Linked DNA regions of Homo sapiens: region 1 is linked to region 2. The links are contacts of gene promoters, found by promoter capture Hi-C in blood cells and fetal thymus (Javierre and others, 2016). All regions are on one chromosome and are shown on one strand. Each heading gives the region's core, a stretch centred on a gene start or on the middle of the fragment in contact. The rest is flanking DNA. Distances are from core to core; before and after follow the strand shown.

Region 1 (5,113 bases), core at 1,532-4,031, 83 kb before region 2:
CAGTCCTTTCCTCTTCTCTGCCTCCTTCCTATCTGCACTCAACCTCTTGGCAATCCCATGCAGTCTCATATGATGATATGATGTACCATCTATATGCCAATGACTTTCAAGTCTATCTCTCCAGCTCATTGCTCCCCAAATCTCCAGCTCCATATCTAACTGCTGACTTGACATCTTCACTCCATACACCCTACAATAGCCTGCATAGACCTGCACAATGTCCCTTCCCCCAACCCATGACCCTCTCCCCGCCTTTCCTGCTTCACTCCAGCCACTGGCCTCCTTGCTGTTTCTAAATGCACTTGCTGCTCCTGTCTCAGGGCCTTTGCACTTGCTCTTCTCTCTTCCTGGAACACTCCTCCCCCAGACATCCTGAAGTCTTTCTTTCTCAATGAAGCCTACCCTGACCATCCTGTTTAATACTGCCACCTGTGTCCCACCCCTGTATTCCCAATTCTCCCACCCTTCTCCGCTTTTTCTTTTCTCTATAACACCTATCACCTTTTGACATGATATATAATTTACTGATTTATTATATTTTCTCTCATCTTTTCCTTTACTTGCTGACATGTAAGCTCTTTGAAGGGAAGAACCTTTATTTTATTTATCTATGTATCCTAAGTACTTAGAATGGTGCCTAGCACATAGTAGGTGCTCAGAAAAAAGATTTGCTTAAATAAATCAAATATTTATTGAAGACCAGGGACATTGCCCAGTGCTTTGAGAGGCCAAGGCAGGAGCATCACTTGAGGCCAGGAGTTTGAGACCAGCCTGGGCAACATAGCAAGACGCTGTCTCTACAAAAATGTAAAACATTAGCCTGGTCTGGTGACAGGCACCTGTAGTCCCAGTTACATGGAGGCTAAGGCGGGAGGATCTCTTGAGCCCGGGAGTTTGTTGCTGCAGTGAGCCATGATTATGCCACTCCACTCTAGCCTGAGCAACAGAGCAAGACCTGGACTCTTAAAAAAAAAATACACACACACACATACACGTTTATTGAATAAATGAATGAAAGAATAATAGTATACCATCCCTTTAAACTTTCAGTAGCTCCCTACTGCCTAGAAGGCAAAGTTCAAACATTTTACTATGGCATTCAAAGCCCACAGCTGGCCTTGAACTATCTGGCTATGTGAACTGTTGAATAATCTATATGCTTGAGTTCTGAGTTCTCCCATCTTTTTTTTTTTTTTTTTTTTTTTTTTTTGATGGAATCTTGCTCTGTCGCCCAGGCTGGAGGGCAGTGGCACAATCTTGGCTTACTGCAACCTCTGCCTCCCGTGTTCAAGTGATTCTCGTGCCTCAGCCTTCTGAGTAGCTGGGATTACGGGCGTGCACCACCACGGCTGGTTAATTTCTTTCTTTTTTTTTTTTTTTTAAGGCCAAGTCTCGCTCTGTCACCCAGGCTGGAGTGCAGTGGTGCGACCTTGGCTCACTGCAACCTCTGCCTCCAGGGTTCAAGCGATTCTCCCACCTCAGCCTCCTGGGTAGCTGGAATTACAGGCACATGCCACTACGCCAGGCTAATTTTTGTTTTCTGTTTTTTTGTTTGCTTGTTTTTGAGACGGAGTCTCGCTCTGTCGCCCAGGCTGGAGTGCAGTGGCGTGATCTCGGCTCACTGCAAGCTCCGCCTCCCGGGTTCACGCCATTCTCCTGCCTCAGCCTCCTGATTGGCTGAGACTACAGGCGCCCGCCACCATGCCCGTCTAATTTTTTGTATTTTTAGTAGAGACGGGGTTTTACCGTGTTAGCGAGGATGGTCTCGATCTCCTGACCTTGTGATCTGCCCACCTCGGCCTCCCAAAGTGCTGGGATTACAGGCATGAGCCACTGCACCCGGCCTTGGTTTTTGTTTTGTTTTGGTTTTGAGACGGAGTCTCACTCTGTCACCTCGGCTGGAGTGCAGTGGCACGATCTCAGCTCTCTGCAACCTGTGCCTCCAGGGTTCAAGTGATTCTCCTGTCTCAGCCTCCCAAGTAGCTAGGACCACAGGTGCACACCACCACACCCAGCTAAATTTTGTATTATTAGTAGAGATGGGGTTTCACCATGTTGGCCAGGCTGGTCTGGAACTCCTGACCTCAAGTGATCTGCCAGCCTCAGCCTCCCAAAGTGCTGGGATTACAGGGGTGAGCCACCATGCCTGGCCAAGTTCTAGCATCTTAAGAAAACAACTCATGGAAGGGGAGTGATCTGCACTCCCTGCTTCCTTTCCCCAACCTCCCCAGCCTGCCTTCCCTTCTTCCTTTTTTTTTTTTTTTTTTTTTTGAGACGGAGTCTGGCTCTGTCACCCAGGCTGGAGTGCAGTGGTGTGACCTTGGCTCACTGCAACCTCCACCTCCCGGGTTCAAATGATTCTCCTGCCTCAGCCTCCTGAGTAGCTGGGATTACAGATGCCCGCCACCACGCCCAGCTAATTTTTGTATTTTTAGTAGAGACGGGGTTTCACCGTGTTGGTCAGGCTGGTCTCGAACTCCTGACCTTGTGATCCGCCCGCCTCAGCCTCCCAAAGTGCCAGGATTTCAGGCGTGAGCCACTGTGCCTGGCCTGCCTTCCCTTCTTAATCCCATCTGGGGCAGCCCTCTGCCCTCCAGTGCCCCTGCCCACCTGCGAGATGGCTCTTCCCAAAATACAGCTTTGTGCCTCTTGCCTCATGCCCACAAACCTGCAGTGACTCCTGCTGCTCATGAAGCCACATCCTAGCACCCAACCTGGTCCTCAAGACCCCCCCCATGGCATCTCCTCCCACCTCCTTTCCCATTGCTCCCTTCCCCCACAGCCAACTCACTTCATCCTAAATCTGCTCTGAGATTCTTGCTCCTACCCCCTTGCTCAACCTAGTCCCTCTTTTTACCACTTGTCAAAATCCTAACCTAACCACTCCAGGGAGGGGTGACAGGCCTGGCTGAAAACCCACCTTCTTCATCTTGAGCACCCTTCCTCCTAGAGAGATCCCCTTCCCTGGAGCGTCACTCTTGGCCTTGACAATGTTTGGTGAGGGCCTTGGTGAGTCAGGCAGTGGGCTGGGTTCTGCAGATACAGTGGCACGTTGGGCAGGCCTATCCCTGCTCTGTGAAGCATGCAGTCAGGGACATGCTGCCTGGGGGCATTTCATTGAAGGCCCAGGTGGGCAGAAGTTGTACCATGTACATCTTGTCCTATTCAGTATTCAGTATTCAGTAGTCCTATTCAGTATTCAGTAGTTGCTCAAACAATGTGAGCCAAGGACCCACATACTCTTGCTGAGTCTCTGACATGCTGGCCCAGGCCTGGACACTGGGTCACAGGACACACCTCTAGGCCTGATCAGGTACTCCAGTTAGTTGCCATCCAGATAGCCTGTCCCAAAGCTGCCCTGAACCCAGATCTTCAGGTCTCTGGGCCGGAGTGTACATCCCATTTCTCTGGGCCCAGCCAGAGCCTCATCTACATGGGGCCTCTCTGGGGCACCCCAGCCTCTGACCTTTCCTTGCTTTTCCCTGGCAGCCAGTTAAGTGAGGAAAATAAAGGCCCCTAATGTTTCTCCCGCATTTTATTACTGCACTTACCTAGTTGTTATCTGGATGTTGTCTCAGAACAACTTCCAGGGGTATATAGGAGGGGCACTGTTAGGCCCAGTGTACAAAAGAGAAACTACACCCACTTTGGCAACAGGTTCAAGGACACCCAGCAGTGTGTGGCCGGGACAGGCACCCAGGCTTTGTGATGCCACACGGGGCCATTGACTCACAAGGGAGTGTGCATGTTGAGGACAGGAGCCCAGGCGTGGGGACATGGTGGGAATCGCTGTGTGCACTTGCAGGCCGGTGGCATGGCTCTGTAAGGCGGGTGGGGAGTGGCCACAGGAAGAACCCAACCCCGATGCGGAGAATCCAGGATGGCTTCTGCCACTTTTGAGCCATGCAACTGTTGGTGAGCCCCTTCGTGCCCTTGAACCTCAGTCTCCACCTGTGAGTAATGGGAGTGATGACAGCATCTGGTCACCTCCCCACAGCGGGGAGAAGGTGAGGGAGAATGAACAGCAAAGCACTTCGATGGCAACGGGACAACACTCAGGGAAGCGGGTGATGGAGCCTCCAGCTGTCAGGCCCGTGTTTTGGTTTCGCAGACACCTGCTCTGTGGCAACAACCAGGGGACTTTGGGGCTGTGAGAACTGGGTGGCTGCTTTGACCCTCAAGGGCATTCAGCCTGGGCTCCTTTCCTTGAGATAAGCATGTCCCACCTGGGCAGGGCCCTCCCTAGGAGGCAGGGGGTACCCGCCCACACAGGCCCTCACCCCTAACTCCCTATTTGGTTCACTCCAGACCCTGAGCTAGGACATCAACTATGGGACACGTCATACAAAACACGTCCAGAACTGAGCTCTTGGCCGTCCCTGCCTTTCTAGCCTGCCTGGCCCGGGGATGGCAGTTCCTTCCTCCTGTCTCTCTTCCCAGACCAGAGTCCTTGGAGTTGCCCCTGATTCTTCTCTTTCTCTCACATCCCACATCCGGTCTCTCAGCAAACCCTGTCCATTCTACCTTCAAATTACAGGTTGAACGGCATGACAGTGCCACATTCAACTGTTCTTTTTTTTTTTTTTTCCCCACTGTAATCTTGACCTCTTGGGCTCAAGCGATCCTCCTGCCTCAGCCTCCTGAGTAGCTGGGACTACAGGCATGTGCCACCACGCCCAGCTAATTTTTTAATTTTTTTGTAGAGATGGGGTCCCACTATGTGGCCCAGACTGGTCTCGAACTTCTGGGCTCAAGTGATCCTCCTGCTTCGGCCTCCCAAAGTGCTGGGATTACAGGCATGAGCCACTGCACCTGGCCTTTATGATTCTTGTTTTACTGCCTCTTCCCACTAGAGTATATGCTCCACGAAGACAGATTCTTTAGCTCTGTATTCTGCAGTTGATGGTATTTCCTGTTGCTTAGAGCAGGGCCTGGCACAGAGAAGGTACTCAATAACCATCTATTGAACAAAAGAATGAATAAACAAATGAATAGATAAATGGAGGGTGCCAACTCCAGCCGCAGCCTCTGCAGCTTCATGCCCAGGAACACAGTGTTCTCTCCCTGGTACCAAGGCCACAGTTCTTGGCACCCAGAAGGGTCTCCAACTCAG
Region 2 (4,581 bases), core at 1-2,500:
GCCTGGATCCCCACCCCCCCAACCCAGGAAGACTGAGGTGTGTGTACGCAGGTGGGGTAAGCCCGGGTTACCGACGAGACCTGCTCGCGTCTCCGCTCCCACTCTGGTGCCCCCTCCCCTCCCTGGCAGCCCCCCCCCCATCCGCCTACCCTCCGGGCTCACTTCGACTCACCTGGCGGTGGGTCTTCTTCCCCCCCGACCCCCGGCGGTGCGGCCCGTCCCCCTTCTGACCCCGCGCCTGGCCGTCGTGCCCCGAAGGATATGGGTTACAGACCGTGCGGAGACACCAGCTCCGCGGGCGGCTGTCCTGGCTCAAGTAGAAGAAAACCACCGGGGCCAGCGCCGGGTACGGCAGCCCCTCCGCCTCGGAGTCCGCGCTGCCCGGGTCCTTTTCTGCTGACCCCGGCCCCGGCCGGCCCCCGGCCCCCGACAGGTCGTTGAGCCGCATGAAGCTCCGGGGCTGTCCCGACTCCTCGGCGCCCGCTCCATCCTCCTCCTCGTCCATCCTCTGGCCAGCCGGGGCCCCGGGCGATCCGGAGAGGGGCAAGCGGCGCCCCTCAGAGGAGGTGTCCTCACGCAACCCGGGGGCCCCGGCGGGGGCACATCTGGTGGGCTCTAGGGCGCAAGCTGAGCCCCCGGGAGGGCCAGTTCAGCCCAGCTCCCCCTGCCCGCAGGGGCATGCTGCCCGCGGGGCGCCGGGGCGCAGGGAAACCCCGCCCGGCGCGAGTCCCGCTTCCCCTGCGCCCCTGGGGCTTCCCGGGCCAGCCGGCCGGCTCCCCCTCACTTTGTTCCGGCTTCTTCGCTTCGCGCCCAGGCTCCGGTTGCCGGATTCGGCGCTACCTTCGGCGAAGCCGCCCCGAGAGGGCGAACGAAAAGGGGGGCAGCGGCGGAGGGCGGGGGTCCGGGGAGGGGCGCCCCCTCTTCCCGCGGCGCAGCTGGAGCCGGATCTAAGGGGTCAGCATCGTCCCGGCTCCGCGCCAGGCGGCGGGGGAGGGGAGGAGGGATCTCTTTAGGGGTGGGCTTGGAGGGGGTGGGGGCGGCTCCTTCCCCCGCCCCGCCGCGGGCTCACTGTCCGGGAGGGGCGGGGAGACAGTGGGGGGCAGTCCCGGGCGGGAGTGGAGGCGGAGATGCCGCCGCCGCAGCCGCCGCGGTGGCTGCCGCTGCCGTAGCTGTCGCCGGCGCCACAGCCTCCTCCTCCGGCCGAGACGCGGAGCGAGCGAGCGAAAGCGGCGGCGAGGAGCCCCGCGCACACCACAGCTGGATCCCTCACTTCAACTTCAAGCCTCGGCCCCGCCCCCAGACAGCCCCGCAGCCAATCGCCGGACGCCGCCGGCCCCGAGCCGCGCGCCCATTGGCCGTCCGCCGTGGCAGTGCGGGCGGGAGCGCAGGGAGAGAACCACAGCTGGAATCCGATTCCCACCCCAAAACCCAGGACCGCCCCTCTCCCCTCCCCTTGCCCCTGGGTCCGCTCCCGAAGGCTGGAGCCAATCAGACTGCTGCCCAGACCGAACCCACTTTCCTATTGGCCATTGGGGTCTTTGGGACTCCCTTGGAGGGAGCCCGAAGAATCAGAGTATTCGGCGCGGGGTCCTGGCGTAGGGCCGCAGGCCCCAGGCATCCTTTGTCCACGACCCCTGATTTGGGCAGCAGCCGGAGGACGGAGCTCAGCTCTGGGCGGGCCTGGGGAAGAAAGGAGACAGGCGGCACGGGGGTGAGGGTTGTCACCAGGGGGTCCCAGAGCGAAATCCCAGGTCTCCACCTGGTTAATCTCCCACCCTGGAGTTGAGCTTGGCTGCGGGACTGGGGGAGGGAAGGAGCGGAGCTGGATGTCCTGGGGGTGGGGCTTCAGGCTGGAGGGGCCCAGTCTTGGAGAAACGGGCGGAGCTCGAGAAAGGCTAGGGTAGGCATGGTCTGGGCGTGGCCTCCACAAATCTCTTGGGCTTATTGGTCATACTCCCGAGTCAATTCTGAGACTTCGACCCTGACCTCGTAACCCTAACCCGCTGGACCTGACCTCACATTGACGCTCCTGGGCTTCATCCCTTTGCCCCTAGGGACCTTTTGAAGGGCGTGGACTCCACGCAGGGGCTTCGTGCTTGAACACGTGGCCCCAGGCAGGTCGCGCTGGACCGCAGAGCCCGGATCCCCAGGAGGGGCTGCGGAGCAGAGCGAGGACCCCTAAGAAGGAACCTGTGGGGGTCTCGAGTGTGTGGGAGGGGGCGGAAGCACAGAGCTGGGCTTTATCGACTCGACCTTCAAAGTCCCCACCACCGCCACCCCCCAACTTCGTGCCTCAGTTTCTCTTAAGTCCCTATGTGGCTTAGGGAAAGAGTGTCCGCGGAACTGGAACTTCGCGGGTCTGCCGCCTTCACTCACTCACCTTAACCCTACCGGCAGCGGGCCCTCGTGGGTTTGTGCTTTCCACGCGTGCACACGCACGCGCAGACCCCGGCCCTTGCCCCGCCTACCTCCCCGAGTTCTGGGGCTCAGTCGGCTCTAGCTCTCTCCTGCCGCCGGCGCCACTCCAGAAAGCTGTGGGTACCCGGGAGCGGAGCGCCGCGGGTGTGCTGGGCGCCGGTGGAGGGGGGAACAGCGAGGATTAGACGCCGGGAAGCACTTCCCCAACATCTGCGAGAGGTAGACACGGCGGAACCTAGTGGGTCAGTCAGTTCCCTCTCCGGAGATTTTGGGGCGCTTGCGCCACTGCGGAGAGGCGGCGGGATGGGTCGGATGACCTCCATCACCACCCCTCACTTTGCTGAGGCCATCACCCCTGGGCGTTGTTCACTCTCCTAAGGCTGCACCACCCACGCAGCCCCCGCGCACCTCCCGCCACCGCAGAGGGTTGGGGTCGTCTCAGTTCCCGCCCCGGCCGATGGGGGGAGGGGATGGGGGAAGTGGCAGAGTGGCTGCTGCGCCGTCGTCTCCCTGGTTGCCCTTTCGCCGAATCCATGCACAGAGTTGTGTAAATGAGGCCGGGCGGGCTCATTTGCATTTCATGCTAATGAGCAGATCCCCTAAGTGCCTTTTTTTCCTGGCGGGAGTCTCTGCTCTCATTCTGAGTATGCGGCGCCTGAGTCTTGAACCCCGTGCCGTCTTCTGGGAAAGGGGGGCTATTTATGGTTGCTCCGCGCGTCTGACACCTTCTTCCCTCCCGAGAGGCCGCAGTCTGCCGGGTCGGCCTGCCCTTCCCGCCAGGATAGAGGCCCCGGGGCTGGCGCGAGAAGTAGGGACGCCCAACACCCCTTCTTTGCAGAGGGGAAAATGAGGACAGAGAGGCTGGCCCAGCCCAATGATCAGGTCCCCTGGTGGTCAGCAGGCCCCACACCCTCATCCATCATCCCGGCCACCCCTGGGCTCTGGACTGAACTCTGTTCTAGAACATGCCCGAAAGGAGGGCAGGCACAAACGCACCATCTAGATAAATTGAGATCCACATGCACTTCCCTGGGTTCAGGACCTAGGGGAGACCGGCCACGCAAGACAGGATCTGATCCCTGTACTCGGCATGTTGGGGCTGATGGCCAGTCGGAGATGCTTACCCTTAGCCTGAGTGCCAGAGAGGAGGCAGAGGCAGAACCTACAGGGAAGGCAAAGAAGACCTGAAACCATCTTTATTTAACTCCAGCCCTCCAAGCCTCAGCTCTGACATCACCTCCTCAGAGTGGCCTTCTTTCCAGCAAGTATTTCAATGCCACTTAAGTGCCAAGGTGCTTAGGATACAGCACCGAGCCAGACACAAGTCTGGAACTTCACAGCACTTAGCCCAGGCTGGGATTATATGTTTGTGTTTGCAGTAATGAAATGATCATCTCCCTATCTAGGCTCTGTGTTCCCAGAGGGGCTATGTTCATTTTGCTCACTAGGGCCTTGTCTAGTGTCGGGCACAAAGTTGTTAGGTGAATGAATGACCTCAGGCAGGGAAAGGGAAACAAAGGGACAAGAAATTCCTTTCTTTGGGCCTCAGTTTCTCAACAAAGACACTAAGCCTAACTAAGAGTTTTTCTGGGTTTGAGGAAGAACCCCCCCCATATATACCCTGCTCAGCCAGCCCCTCCAGCCCCCTCCAGCCCTGCCTTTACCCCTCCCTCACAGCCCATCTGGCTCCCTGCGGAGCTAAGATAATCTTCCCATCTGTGATACCCTTTGCTCAGGGATGATACAACCATTATCCCATTTAGTCACCTTAACAGCCCTGAGAGCTGGGTGGATGGCCCCCCACCTTTCAGATAAGGAAGGGGGGTGCTCAGAATGATGAAGTTACTTAAGTGACTGCCCAGACGGTATGGCCCTGTCTCCAGTGACCCTGGCCCGCAGGTGTTCCGCTGGTAGAACAGGGTGCACACTCAAGAGGGACCAGCAAAGGGGAAGGGATGCTGCAGGAACTCTTATAATCCTGCTTCTGAGTGAGATTTATGTGGGACCCTGCCCCCTTTAGAAATTCGAGCACTCCTGGGAGAACTAACCCTTTAAGGAGGTAACTCCTTCTTCCCAACCCATTTACAGAATCCCATCATCGCGTGCACATCTCATCCCAGGAGGGAGAGAGGAGCTGCCGAGTAGAAAGCAGACTGGCTGCAG

Evidence for each region. Contacts are between HindIII fragments. The CHiCAGO score rates a contact against its expected background, and 5 or more counts as called.
Region 1: a fragment that was not itself captured here is called in contact with the fragment with the promoter of CACNA1G in region 2 in 6 of 17 cell types (M1 macrophages, M2 macrophages, M0 macrophages and 3 more); the score reaches 10.3 in M1 macrophages.

What each region holds. Positions count from the first base shown.
Region 1 is chr17:50,641,469-50,646,581 of GRCh38, reverse strand. The region is part of intron 1 of ABCC3 (ATP binding cassette subfamily C member 3); the gene reads right to left. Among named protein-coding and RNA genes, the nearest start is that of ABCC3, 9.1 kb to the right of the region's middle. The HindIII fragment of the contact is 9,662 bases long and covers 1-5,113 here.
Region 2 is chr17:50,557,384-50,561,964 of GRCh38, reverse strand. It overlaps CACNA1G (calcium voltage-gated channel subunit alpha1 G), which reads right to left and starts at 1,250. Exons shown (of 38, transcript NM_018896.5): 1 at 264-1,250. The coding sequence starts at 505. CACNA1G-AS1 (CACNA1G antisense RNA 1) reads left to right here. Exons shown (of 2, transcript NR_038439.1): 1 at 1-37; 2 at 4,507-4,581. RefSeq lists enhancers at 1-291, 1,651-1,700 and a silencer at 1,051-1,430. The HindIII fragment of the contact is 9,044 bases long and covers 1-4,581 here.